Linked DNA regions of Homo sapiens: regions 1, 2 and 4 are each linked to region 3. Evidence: promoter capture Hi-C in 16 types of primary human blood cells and fetal thymus (Javierre and others, 2016). All regions are on one chromosome and are shown on one strand. Each heading gives the region's core, a stretch centred on a gene start or on the middle of the fragment in contact. The rest is flanking DNA. Distances are from core to core; before and after follow the strand shown. Region 1 has its middle 41 kb from the start of PSMB1. Region 2 overlaps DLL1 (delta like canonical Notch ligand 1). Region 3 holds the start of WDR27 (WD repeat domain 27). Region 4 overlaps PSMB1 (proteasome 20S subunit beta 1).

Region 1 (3,234 bases), core at 196-2,695, 810 kb before region 3:
AAATCGTTGTCATATAATAATTAATATATCTGCCAGTGTTAGCAGTCCTTGTTGTTTCACTCTCCCATCAACATGTGACATTGTCAGAGTTTTATTAAAGCCATTTTGCTAGGTGTACAGTAATATTACATTGTGGTTTCAATTTGTATTTCCCTAATGACTAATTATGTTTTAAATCATTTTTATAATGGGTCATTTGTTTTCTTATTATTATACCTTCATTGGTTTTTAAAAAGCTTCCTAGCACCTAAAACACTCCTTACCATGGCAGGTAAGGCCCTGTATGATATAACCCCTGCCTATCTTTTCAGCTTCATCTTTCACTTAAGTACTGTCCATATAGCTTGATACTCTACTGAAACAAGTTATAATATCATAATAGACCTCCTTCGTATTCTCACTCCCAAATCTGTAATTCTACCTGCACCTTTTGCTCTTTATTCCATCCAGATAAAACTGGAGAAGGTCTCCCCTACTAACAAAAATCAAACCCTTCACAGGAGATTTTGATCCCATTCCCTCTCATGGGGTCATTGTCTAGAACTTCTTTCTTTTCCTTTCTGTTGTGTGCTATTGATCTTTCATTAGTATTTAATCATCCTCACCAGTAACTAATATGCTTTATTACCTCCCATTATAAAGAAATAAGAGAGCCTCCCTTGTTCCCTAATTACCCTCTAGCTATTGTACCCTCTAGCTAATTCTTTTCATAGTCAAACCTCTCATAAATGTTGTCTATAAATGCTGATCCCACTTCTTTCCATCCTTTCCTGCTTTCTGATCTGGCTTTTGTCCCCACTACACTAAAATGATCTTGTCAAGGTACAAGTGATCTCCTTGTGGCCAAATAGCATGATAATTCTCTTGATTGAAACAGTCTATTCTCTTAGCTTTGGTGATGCCACATTCTCTGAAGTTTTCTCCCGTTTCATTAGCTGCTACTCAGTTTTCTGTACACTTTCTTTTTCTCTAGCCAACTTCTAGTTGTGGCCATTTCTCAAGGCTCAGTCTCCTTCCACTCTCTCCCTAGCTTTTCAACCAGCCCCATGATACTAAATGTCATCTATATGCTGATCAGTCCTAAATTTATATTTCTGGACTAAACCTATCCTTTGAATCCTAGACTAAAATATTCAATGACTATAACATCACTACTGAGATTCTCCAATAGAAACATGTCCCAAAGTGAATGTTGGTATCCAGCTTTTCCTACAATCTGTTCATCCAGGAGTCTTCTTCATGTGCCCTTTCATCAGTTGCTCACACTATAGACCTGAATGGCTTTCCTTTCATTCCTTACATCTAGTCCAGTACAGATCTTGTCAGTTCTACCTACCATACATATCTCAGACTCAACCACATCTTGTCGTCTTCAGTAACCATCATTTAACTTATCATCTGCACAGGTCTGGGCCATTCGGATAGCCACTGCACTAATTTATCTAGCTATTCCCCCACCAATCTCACCAAACAGCCAGAATGACCTTCTTAAAGCATATGGAATCATACCAATTTCTCCATTGTGTTGTGTTGCTCATCCACATGGGTTGTCCATGTGCGGCCCCTGTGTGTGTGTGTACCCTCCACATGGCTCATCCACATGTGGTCTCTGTGTGTGCATCCCCTCCAGGTGAATCATCCATATGTGGTTTTTGCGTGTGTGTGTGTGTCCCTCCTGCAGGTAGTTAATGCATGTGTGGTCTCTGTGTGTGTTTCCCCCTCAGCCGCCTCTCCTCCCTCATTTCATGCCCCTCTCCCACTGACCACCGTCCTCCAGCTCCCCTGACCTCATTTTTTCCCTTGAACCTATAGAGTTATTTTCTCTCAGTGGCTTTGGCCAGTTTGGTGTGTCAACCTTGCATGCTCATTCATGCATGGCTCCTCATTCTCACCTGTCAGTACTTGTTGCGCCTCCAAAGAGCAACCTTCCTAGTCCTCCTTTTAAGAAGAAATAGGTTCCATACTCCATTGTTCACTGTGGCCTAGCCTGTTTGTCTCCTTTATAACATTACTCCATTTGCATTTTTATTAGTTTTTAATTTCCTTGATCTCTCTCGGACAATAGATGATAAATTCCATGTGGGAAGAAACTATGTGTTCCATATATCAGTGTATTCCCAGCATCTACATAGTATCAAGTGTATAATAGGCATTCAATAAATATTCTTAACAAACTATTTGTAACTCTAACACTCAAGTTCCTTCACTGTTTCACACGTCTAAACTTTTGTGTTGTGGCGGTATTTTCTTGCCTAACTGATCCCACCTTCTTAAGGACTTTTTAGAATGAAAGGTATTGGAGGTCTCAATGATCATTGGCTTCATAGTTCATACATGGTCTTCTCTTACTGAGGATGCGAAGTACCCACAACCCCCACCGCACCTGCAGGAAAATGAGAGTGATGCTCACTGGCCATCAGAATGCAGGTGATGAGGCCGCACATGATCCAGTGTTCGGGACAGGTAGAGTGGAGACTGCCCTGTCTCCATAGCCAGACTGCCCCAGCTCAAAGAGGTTGCACATTTCAAGCATTGTAGTCGTAGTATAAGAAGAGATTCTTAGAGCTAAGAAAACTCGATTTTTGCCAGCTGCCATTTGAATTCAAATTTTAGATTAGATTTGAACTCAAATTTTTCTCTTTTTGTAAAGCTTAGTTTCAAGAGGAAATGACTGAGCTATAATTTTTCTCAGTTTCCCATGATGTTAATATATATCTACAATTTTGGTAATGAATGTATGAATTCAGACATATTCTGAAATCCGAGTCTGGGTGGCAAAATTTTGGCAATAATTTGAGACTGTCAAACTTGTGAAAGTATGTTGCTTTGGTAAAAGTGTTGAACTAGAAAGTTAAAGATTCTATCATTGATGTAAACCCCACAGTACAAATGACAGACCTCAAGTGATATAGCCCACAGTCTAGTAGAATAAGTTAGTCAATCACATGTCGGCGTGCATTTGCATTGGTTTTATTTTAGATTGAGGAACATGTGCATGTTTGTCACATGGGTATACTGCATGCTGGCGGGCACAGGGCTTGTAGTGTGCCCATTACCCAAATAGTGAACATTGTAACTGACAGCTAATTTTTCAACACTCACTCCCCTCCCAACCTCCCAACTTTTGGAGCTCCCAGTGTCTATTATTTCCATCTCTATGTCCATGTGTACCCATTGTTGTTAGCTCCCATTTATAATCAAGAACAAGCAGTGTTTGATTTTCTCTTTCTGAGT
Region 2 (3,037 bases), core at 167-2,666, 580 kb before region 3:
ATTACGCATAAGAAGCATGCACTGCCTGAGTGTATATTTTGGATTCTTATGAGCCAGTCTTTTCTTGAATTAGAAACACAAACACTGCCTTTATTGTCCTTTTTGATACGAAGATGTGCTTTTTCTAGATGGAAAAGATGTGTGTTATTTTTTGGATTTGTAAAAATATTTTTCATGATATCTGTAAAGCTTGAGTATTTTGTGATGTTCGTTTTTTATAATTTAAATTTTGGTAAATATGTACAAAGGCACTTCGGGTCTATGTGACTATATTTTTTTGTATATAAATGTATTTATGGAATATTGTGCAAATGTTATTTGAGTTTTTTACTGTTTTGTTAATGAAGAAATTCCTTTTTAAAATATTTTTCCAAAATAAATTTTATGAATGACAACCAGAAGGCGTAGTTACTTGGCTTTGCCTTAGAGCGGAGGTGTGCTCACTCACCTGCGGCCCGCGAGGCTGAGGGCAGAGGTGGCCTTGGTGTTTCTCTTTTCAAGGCTTTGGTTTCCCTGGATCCATGAGAAGCAGCCCGTTCCTCTCCTCCCTCAGGAAGCTGCTTGCTGGCCATCATGAGGTGACTTGGTAAGAGCAGGCACGCGCATGAAGCAGCCGCGATTTTCTAATTCCATCCCCCCATGCATTTATTAGTTCTTTCCGCAGAAAGAATGAGCGTTCCTCATTCATTCATTCATTCATTCATTCATTCATTCATTCATGTCAGTGTAGACTTGTGAGTTATTTTGTACCCAGTGGGTCACAGCTGTCATGATTTTGTCGCCGTTTGACGCCAACATGGCCCCAGACGGGGCGTGGGAGTCACGGAAGCTGCTCCTCCGCTTCCCGTCGGTGGGCAGCCCCGTCTCTAAGCGCGTCCCGCCTGCTGGCTCAGCAGGACCGCACGGGCTCCCTGTGGGCTGACCCCTCATTTGCCGCTTTGCCCCCCGCTAAGCCCGGGTTCCTTATGGTAGTGATTGCATTTTTAACTTGCGCGTACCTCAAAGCGCTGAGCGGTTCCCAGGATGGAAAGAGGGCGACCGATGTAGCAGGAGCTGCGCGGAGGCACTGGCGCTCACTCCCCTCAGACCCGACTCCGCTTGCATTTCCTCCTTGCATTAAGGGCACGTTAAATGCCAGGCCAGCAACACCAGCAAAGAGGAGAAGTGTTTTGCTAAGAACATTGAGCTTGAATCCGATGACAGCTCTCAGTCTCATTACCAGTTACGGAAACACGGGACTGAAAACTCCTTCCTCGACGCCCCACGCATCTGCGCAGCCGAATCCAGGGAACTCTGTAGCCAAATAAATTGCAAGGAAAAAACAAGAAAATGGTGAGGGGGAACCCATAGATACAAAGAGACACGGACATATCAATCCATCGCAGCGTCTGGATCTGGTTCCTGTTTCAAACAGTTTAAAAATTTTATGAACCCACTGGAGACATGTAAGCGCTGACTGGGATATCCACATGATTTTAAAGTGCACCTGCTAAATAGTTTAGATGTGATGTGTTATTACTGTTCAGTTTAAAAAGAGACCTTATCTTTTAGAGAAAATTCTGAAATATTTATGGATGAAACAATACGAGGCCTGGGACTGATTCGGAGCCCCCCGCCGCGGGCACGGTGGCACGGGGAGTCCCACGAGCACTGCTGGGGGTCGCTGCAGCTGGGAGTGGCCCATGGGGGCGCTCACTTCCGTGTTCTTTCCTCTTTCGTACACGTTTGAAACTTCCCATAAGCAAAAGCATTAAGCCGGACCATACAGTGAATACACGCACACGCAAACACGACAGTTTCCGGGTGTGTATGGACCGCCGTGTCTGTGACGTGACCCACAGCAGAATGCATCTGAGGGAGGCTTGCTGTGGTTGCATACGCACATCGCAGATGAGAAATCTTACAAGGCCAAAAGCAAGCCAATTAAACTGGGTGGAGAGCGGGAGTCCGGTCAAGGACGCTGGTAGCAGAGTCTCAGGCTCGCTGGTGGCGCGCCTAGGTGATTGCCCACTCTGCTGAGTCCTTGAAAGGGAAACGGCAGCGTCTGCAGCAGTGCTGGGAGCACCTCCTCCCGTCTGCAGGGGACGGTGCCTTTCAGGGCACGGTTCTGCGCATGTGCTCAGCTGGCGCCAGCGAACGGCTTCCGGCTGCTCTTAGCGTGGAGTTCAAAATCCTTGACTTGGCCTCTCAGGTCATGCACCATCCGGCTCCCGCCTGTCTTGGAGCCTCGTTTCGTTATTCTCCCACGGGTCTGTTACCGCTCGGCTCCAGCCAGCGCCCTGGCAGCCTGGTTCTCCATCCGCCCCCACTCTGCGACTTTGAGTGGGATCTTCCATCTGTCTGGTGACTTCCAGTGTGACCTTCTTCCGCCACGAAAATGACCCGCCTGGGTTACCTGCCGCACGTGATGGTGCTCTTGCAGTTTGCCCTGTGGCATGATTAATTCGTGTAGCTGTTTGTTTAGTGGGCGTGTGTCCCAGGAGACTGCAACCTCAAAGAGGGCGGGCTGTGTTGGCCCTGGTTCACCACTGCAACCCAATCCCCACTTGAGGCTGAAGCAAGAAAACGTTCTCTATCCATGTGAGCTATAATTTGAGAACACACAGACACACACTCAGGACATTTCATCATGAAAGAAGCTTCATTCTCGTGTTCACTCTTACCAATGTCACTAGGAGTTTCGAACCATAACATGAAGCCAAACACAGGGATTATCTGAGCGGATGAACATAGTATTCTGTTTTTATTCTAATAACTGGCTGCCTAGATACAGCCCTGTATATGGTAAGAGTGCGTCTACTTGGTATCCAGCAAACAAAGTGTTATGCATTAGTAATTCCTCAGTCCATGCATTTTACAGAAAAGGCAGAGGGAAGGTAAATCGTTTCCTGAGGAACAGCTGAATGTCTAGAAACGTCAAGATGAAGAGTAGAATTTTGCATGCAAGGACACGCGCCATGAGCACCAGGCCTCACACGCAGGAGGCACACAGTACGTCTGTGTTGAATGTAGTATCTTCCACTACAAGGATAAGGAA
Region 3 (2,846 bases), core at 247-2,746:
TATAGAAAAGTACCATCACCTACTTGGGGTACAGGCATGAGGCTTTAGTCCAGGCTCAGGGAAGTGTACGTAAATCATTTCCAACTTGATTTTAGTAACTCTTGAAAACTTACACCAACTTCGGTTAGAATCTCCAGAGTAAAATTACAAAGTTATCAACCTTTTGATTTGTGTCACAGCATGAAAGGTTGCTCTATTTTATATAAACCTGTTACTGCAATCATTTTTAGTCAACCTGCCTAATGAAAATGGAGTCTAAACACTTTGTGCACAGTCCTTTTATAGGAATTATGATCTTTAAAATACTGTGCTTGCTGCTTTTCCTATTTTTGGGGTAACTGAGGTAACAAAACTGCGTATGGCTTTATTTTTCCATCCCTTGACTAAAGGTACCTAGAACTTCAACCAAGTACAAGTAGCAAGGTTCACAGCAAACTGCAATCAGCTTCACAGATGGAGGGTTTTATATCCCAGAGTGTGGTCAACGACTCAAAAGAGAATTTCAAGTACCAGTTTCAAAATGCTAATTAATATCGTCCAGAGAACAGATTCCTCCTCTTGCGAGGCGTCTTCCGGGGCACCAGCGTGCTTCTGGCCGGCATCTGCGCCGTCGGCGGGGTAGGCGGCCTCGCCGAACGGGTGCTGCTCGACCGTGCCGTCGTAGTACACCTTCATCTCGAACTCGCTCTCCAGGTGGGAGGGGTGTCCATAGACGCCGATGCCCACTGGGCGCCGGAAGTGCGCGGGGATGGACACGGCGTCCGGGCCGCAGGTGGCCGATTGCAGCTCGTAGTCGTCGAAGCTGGGGTGCAGGCTGCTGGCGGAGACGTACAGATCCGCATCTCCCTTGAGGCTGCGCATCCTGAGGACTATCTTGCCCTCGTGGTTCAGCCGCAGGTAGCTGTAGTTCCCGGCGCCTATCTGGCCCTGGACGACGTGCAGGAGCACCCACTCCTCGGGGACCTCCTCCTCGTCCGCGCAGCTTCCCGGAGACAGGACCTGCGAGGCTAGGAGCAGCAGCAGGGCCGTCGTCCAGGGCGCGGCCCTCCCGCGGGGAGCGGCCATGGCTGGCGGCTCAGCTCCGGGGCCTGCAAGTGGGTCAGTGCTGCTGGGGACACCGGAGGCGCTCAGCACCGGAGCCTGTCCCCGCCGTCCGCACGCGGGTCCACGGCGCGTCCAGGCGCCTGGTCTGTCGCTGGGACTGTCCCTTCCCACCCGCGTGAGGCCCCGGGGAGGAGGGGTGGGTTAACCCCTCCCCCGTAGCGCGGCGCCCACTCAGGGCAGGGGCAGGGGCAGGGGCAGGGCCGCTGTGGCACCCTCGGACTCACCACCACTCCCCGCAGGGGGCCGCGCTTTATACATCCGGACCCGAGGCCGGAGCCTCGCCGGAGGCGGAAGTGACGCTAGGTCCGTAAGTGAGCCGGCCGGAAGCGAGGCTTCTCCAGCTGTCGCGAGATAGCGAAAGGGGCGTGGGCGCGAGGGGCGGCGGGCTAGTAACCATAGCGGCTCGCGTGGGTCGGCTGGCAAGTAACCATAGCGGCGAGCGTGGGGCGGAGTGTGGCTCGGTAGTCCTCTGCGTGCCCTCCTGGGAGCTGGGTGCTGTGAGTCCTCCCCTAGCGGGCTGGTCTCGGCGCGGAGTCGGCGCCGAACCCGAGCTGCTGCTCTGGGGCGTGTGCCTAGGGCGCAGGGCTGGAGCGCGGGGGCTGCGCGGTTGCTCGCGGCTCCGCTGAGGTCTCTAGGAAAGGGGGCGATTTGAGGGTTCCGCCGTGACCGCTTCCAACGGCGGACACGCGCGCTCTGGACCAGAGCCGTTGCCCGCTGTCTCGTCACCCGAAGCCTCCTCCTGACGCCGTGCTAGTGCGAGGGTCTCCAGGGGAATTCGGGGCACAAGTCGGGCCGGAGCATCCGGGCGGCCGCTTGAGATCGGCGCTTTGAGAACTGAGCGCATGTGGAGTTCGGAGGAAAAGGGCTCAGGTGGTTATTTTAATTAAAGCAGCTGTGTATAAGGAGCACTCAGATCTCTTTAAAAGATTCAGTAGTTTAGGAACGAACCAGGGCTGTAGAAATGCCCGGCCTCCTGCACCTCCCGTCGGTTCTGAGCTCCGAGGGCGGGAGCGTGGACCCTGAGGGCTCGTTAATTATGCCCCACTGGCCTTTCAACCTGCGTGGTAACTACCAGGCTAGGTTTTCCTAACTCGAGCCAAACAGCAAGTTTCTGACTTGATTATCACTAAAAGAGAAAAATTTCGATCTTTTCTAATCAGAAGGGAGTAATTTTCTCTTTTTAAAAATATTCGTATGTACATTAAAAAAACGGAAATGCACAGGATTTTATCAGTGGTACTCCTCGAGTAGTAGAGTTTTCATCTTTTTATGTATTTCTAAATTTTCTACAATTTACACACACTGCTCTGTACCAGTAAAGGAGTATTAACTCTACAGCTTCCAGTTTATCTGGGATTACTATCTTGTGTTTACTGACTTAACTTTAAGACTATGGTATCTTTAGCAATCACTTGTCACTGCCTTTTCCTGAAGTGCTTACCTAGTGTTAGGTGCACTAGAATCTCACTAAAATAATAAATTTAGTTTATTTTCCCTGACTTGTTCTGTGCATGTATGTACATGGATATTCCTGGGGATATCCTGTGACATTGATTATCCCCTAGGGTTGGCACAGCAGGGAGAGGAGGTAGGGATAAAAAACTTTATTATTTCTGCATTGTTTAAATGTTTTGTATTGTATTGCTTTTGTAATTCAAAAAAATGTTAAACAATTTATATTAGTGGAGGTAGGTTAAGTGCTGTAGCAATTCACCCCAATAGAACAGTTGCATGTTTCTTGC
Region 4 (3,176 bases), core at 550-3,049, 840 kb before region 3:
TTTATTTTTGACTCCCCATGTTATCCATGTCTGTCTTTTTTGTTCTACTTTATGAAGATTTCCTTAATTTTAGCTTTTCATCCTTTACTGATTGCTTTTATTTCTGGTGTCATTAATTTCCAAGAGCTTGTACTTATTTTTTGTCTTTTTAAAAAAAATCCTGTTTACTTTCTTTGCAGTTTTCTGTATTTCATCAGAATGTTTTTTTTTTCATGTTATGTGTTCATTTTTGGCCTCTGTCTTCTATGTTAGAGGCTTCCTTCAAATCTCTGATTTTTTTTTTTTTTTTTTTTTTTTTGCTGTCCATTCACATTGAAGAGTCTTGTACCAAAATTTGATTATGAAAGTCCTTGTTGACATGGCTTGTCAACTGACAGCCGTTAACTGGGTGCTTAAGTAAGCAGCATTTTCTTCAGATGAAGAATTTCTTTAATCTTTTTTCCTGAGGTGAGGTGGGACTACAGGAAGAGAAGCCCGGTTGGCAGCTTTTTAGGCCTCAGAGGAGGAAGGGGGCTGAAGGTCTGTGTTTTGTTTACATCAACTTTCCATTTCATGTGTTTTGCTCCTACCCTTTGCCACTCTAGAGCCTGGTCCCCTAAGTCCAGAGCCTCTGCTAATGTCTCAGGAGACTTCCTTTACTGTCTTCTGTGTTGGTGGATGCAGGGACCTGGAGAGCAGTGCTCCATATTGAAACCTTCAGGACAGCAAGGTCCACAGCTCTTTCCCTTGGTGTCAACCGCTGTCTGCACTAACCTCTCTGTCTTTAATCTCTTAGCTGCTCTCATGCCTTTTAAAAATTTTTCTCCCAAATTAAAAGTGGCTTTAGTTTTTCTGTAGTGAAAACAATCAGTACATGTTTATACATACACTCATGCAGTTTTATGTAAGTAGGACTTTGGTATCTGTTTTTCTGTAACTATACATTATGTATTATCAAGGAGATCTAAGCTATATGCATAATGATTTTTGTATTTAATTAACAAAAAATTTTTTTGTCTTCTGTTTTTGCTGCTGTAATACATAGCATCATTTACCTAACCAGTCCTCTAAAGGGCATTTTGGCTTCCTGTTTTCTTAATATAAACACTATGATGAACATCCTTGTACATACATTTTTGTGTACTTCCCCAATTATGCTTGTCTTGCTAGAATAAACTTCGAGTAGTTGAAGTATTGGGTCAGATAAATTTTTTTTTGTATTTTGTTGAGTATACTCTTTCTGAAGGATACGCCAGTACCCTGAGTACCCGATTTTATATAACCTTCCCAGTATTAGAATTAACACATTTTGAAACATCTTTTTGCCTATTGAACAGTTTATTATTTTCATTTATATATATTCTTGGGCATGTTTTCATATGTTTATTGACTTTATAAATTTCCTCTTTGGAGACTGATTCATATATTAACTGTTGCCCATTTCCTTATTTGCAGGTTAGTTTTCTTCTTACTGATTTTCAAGAACTACATTCGACTGTGTCAAATGTCTGTGATATTATAGATACTCCCAAGAGTGTTATTTGTCTCTTTTGGGTGGTGCCTTTTGCTACACAGAAATTGCTGTGTTTCATACAGTCTAATCTGTCAATCATTTCTTTATGACATTCAGTTTCTTGCCTTGTTAGAAAAACTTCTCCCATCCAAAGCTTAGCTGTATTTCTTTTAAGACTTGTCTGATTTTATTTTTTACATTGAAATGATTGTGCTTTTTGGATTTTACTTTGATGAGGAAAAGCACTTTGTAATCAAGATTCATGCCATTCTACATTTATTTTTGTTTTTATTTATTGATTTTTGCTGTTTTATACTGATTTTACTAGTGTCTCTCTTGCTTCTTCTAGGGGGTCTTTAAAGCTGTGTTCTTGGACATAGCCCACCCTTTCTTTGGTTTATTTTTTTAAATTTGTTGTGTGTGGTTTTCTGAGATTGGTTCCATCCTTGGGTAAAGCTTTTGGGCCTCAGTTTACTTGTGGCCTGTCATCCTCATGAGAGATACAATCATTTTTCTGCCTTTACACCTTACATCTCTTTCTTTTTTTGTATATTGAGGTTAGTGGATTGCCTGCTGTGATCTCATGTCTTGTCCCAAGCTTGCTTCCAGCAAAAATACTTCCCAGTTTCTTAGGTGACCTCAGATGGTGCCTTCTCCACCAGAGAATTCAGTTTACACAATCCTTTTTCTTTTTTTGAGACCAAGTCTCGCTCTGTTGCCCAGGCTGGAGTGCAGTGGCATGATCTCGGCTCACCACAACCTCCGCCTCCTGGGTTCAAGCGATTCTCCTGCCTCAGCCTCCCAAGTAGTTGGGAATAGAGGCACGTGCCACCATGCTCAGCTAATTTTTGTATTTTTAGTAGAGATGGGGTTTCACTGTGTTGGCCAGGCTGATCTCGAACTCCTGACCTCGTGATCGGCCCACCTCAGCCTCCCAGAGTGCTGGGATTACAGGCGTGAGCCACCGCGCCTGGCCAAGTTTACGCAGTTCTATAGTAGAAAACATACAAAGCTAACAGTGGCAGTTGTACATGGTTAGTAAGGAGATTGTCCCTATATCACATCTCCCAGGGTACTGAGTTCTGGTATATAATGTGTTTTCTAAATCAGTTATGTTTTTAAAAAATCATACCTTGTAAATGACTCGTGATTTCTCATACCCAGAACACGGTTGTTTTTAACAGGCCTTTTTAACGATTGTAGAATCACCTGTGTTCTTTGTAACAAACTCAAATAAGATAGAAGCACATGAATTAATTCCCTTCTTTTCTTGCCTCTAATTCAGAGCTCAAAGATGACCAGCCACAGTTACTTATCTTTCCAGACTTTTTTGTGCTTGTACAAATAGTTTTCTTATTCTTTTAAACAAAAGCAGTATCGTATTTTACAGGTTACAGAATTCTCTTCGTTTTACTGTGTCTTGCGGATGTGTCCCTTGGACCTGTCTATATACATAAGTCGTGCTTTCCTTCAAGTTCTCCTCTTCGTTAGCTTAGGAGAGCCAAGAAATAAAGACTTTCTTACAAATGACTGTTTGAGTTTGGCTGATGTGTCCTACAGAAACCTCACCATCTCTCTCTGTGTTCTCCCTACTCTCTTACGGGTCCTTACCTACTACCATGGCTTGGATTATTTTTGTGTATTCTCATGGCTTCCAACTGTTTTACATCTGCAGTGGTTAATT

The links. The method cuts DNA at HindIII sites, captures the fragments that hold promoters and counts their contacts. A CHiCAGO score of 5 or more calls a contact.
Region 1: a contact is called between a fragment that was not itself captured here and the fragment with the promoter of WDR27 in region 3, in 2 of 17 cell types (activated CD4 T cells and total CD4 T cells). The highest score is 5.5, in activated CD4 T cells.
Region 2: a fragment that was not itself captured here is called in contact with the fragment with the promoter of WDR27 in region 3 in 2 of 17 cell types (monocytes and naive CD4 T cells); the score reaches 7.5 in monocytes.
Region 4: a contact is called between a fragment that was not itself captured here and the fragment with the promoter of WDR27 in region 3, in 14 of 17 cell types (activated CD4 T cells, M1 macrophages, naive CD4 T cells and 11 more). The highest score is 13.1, in activated CD4 T cells.

The regions. Positions count from the first base shown.
Region 1 is chr6:170,511,122-170,514,355 of GRCh38, reverse strand. No RefSeq gene overlaps it. Among named protein-coding and RNA genes, the nearest start is that of PSMB1, 41 kb to the left of the region's middle. The HindIII fragment of the contact is 2,414 bases long and covers 239-2,652 here.
Region 2 is chr6:170,279,564-170,282,600 of GRCh38, reverse strand. It overlaps DLL1 (delta like canonical Notch ligand 1), which reads left to right. Exons shown (of 11, transcript NM_005618.4): 11 at 1-395. Among named protein-coding and RNA genes, the nearest start is that of LINC01624, 8.6 kb to the right of the region's middle. RefSeq lists an enhancer at 1-457. The HindIII fragment of the contact is 2,450 bases long and covers 192-2,641 here.
Region 3 is chr6:169,700,679-169,703,524 of GRCh38, reverse strand. WDR27 (WD repeat domain 27) reads left to right here and starts at 1,496. Exons shown (of 26, transcript NM_182552.5): 1 at 1,496-1,974. It overlaps C6orf120 (chromosome 6 open reading frame 120), which reads right to left and starts at 1,399. Exons shown (of 1, transcript NM_001029863.3): 1 at 1-1,399. The coding sequence starts at 1,065. The coding sequence ends at 490. RefSeq lists a silencer at 1,033-1,402 and enhancers at 1,453-1,542, 1,863-1,942. The HindIII fragment of the contact is 12,443 bases long and covers 1-2,846 here.
Region 4 is chr6:170,537,711-170,540,886 of GRCh38, reverse strand. The region is part of intron 4 of PSMB1 (proteasome 20S subunit beta 1); the gene reads left to right. Among named protein-coding and RNA genes, the nearest start is that of PSMB1, 14 kb to the left of the region's middle. The HindIII fragment of the contact is 302 bases long and covers 1,649-1,950 here.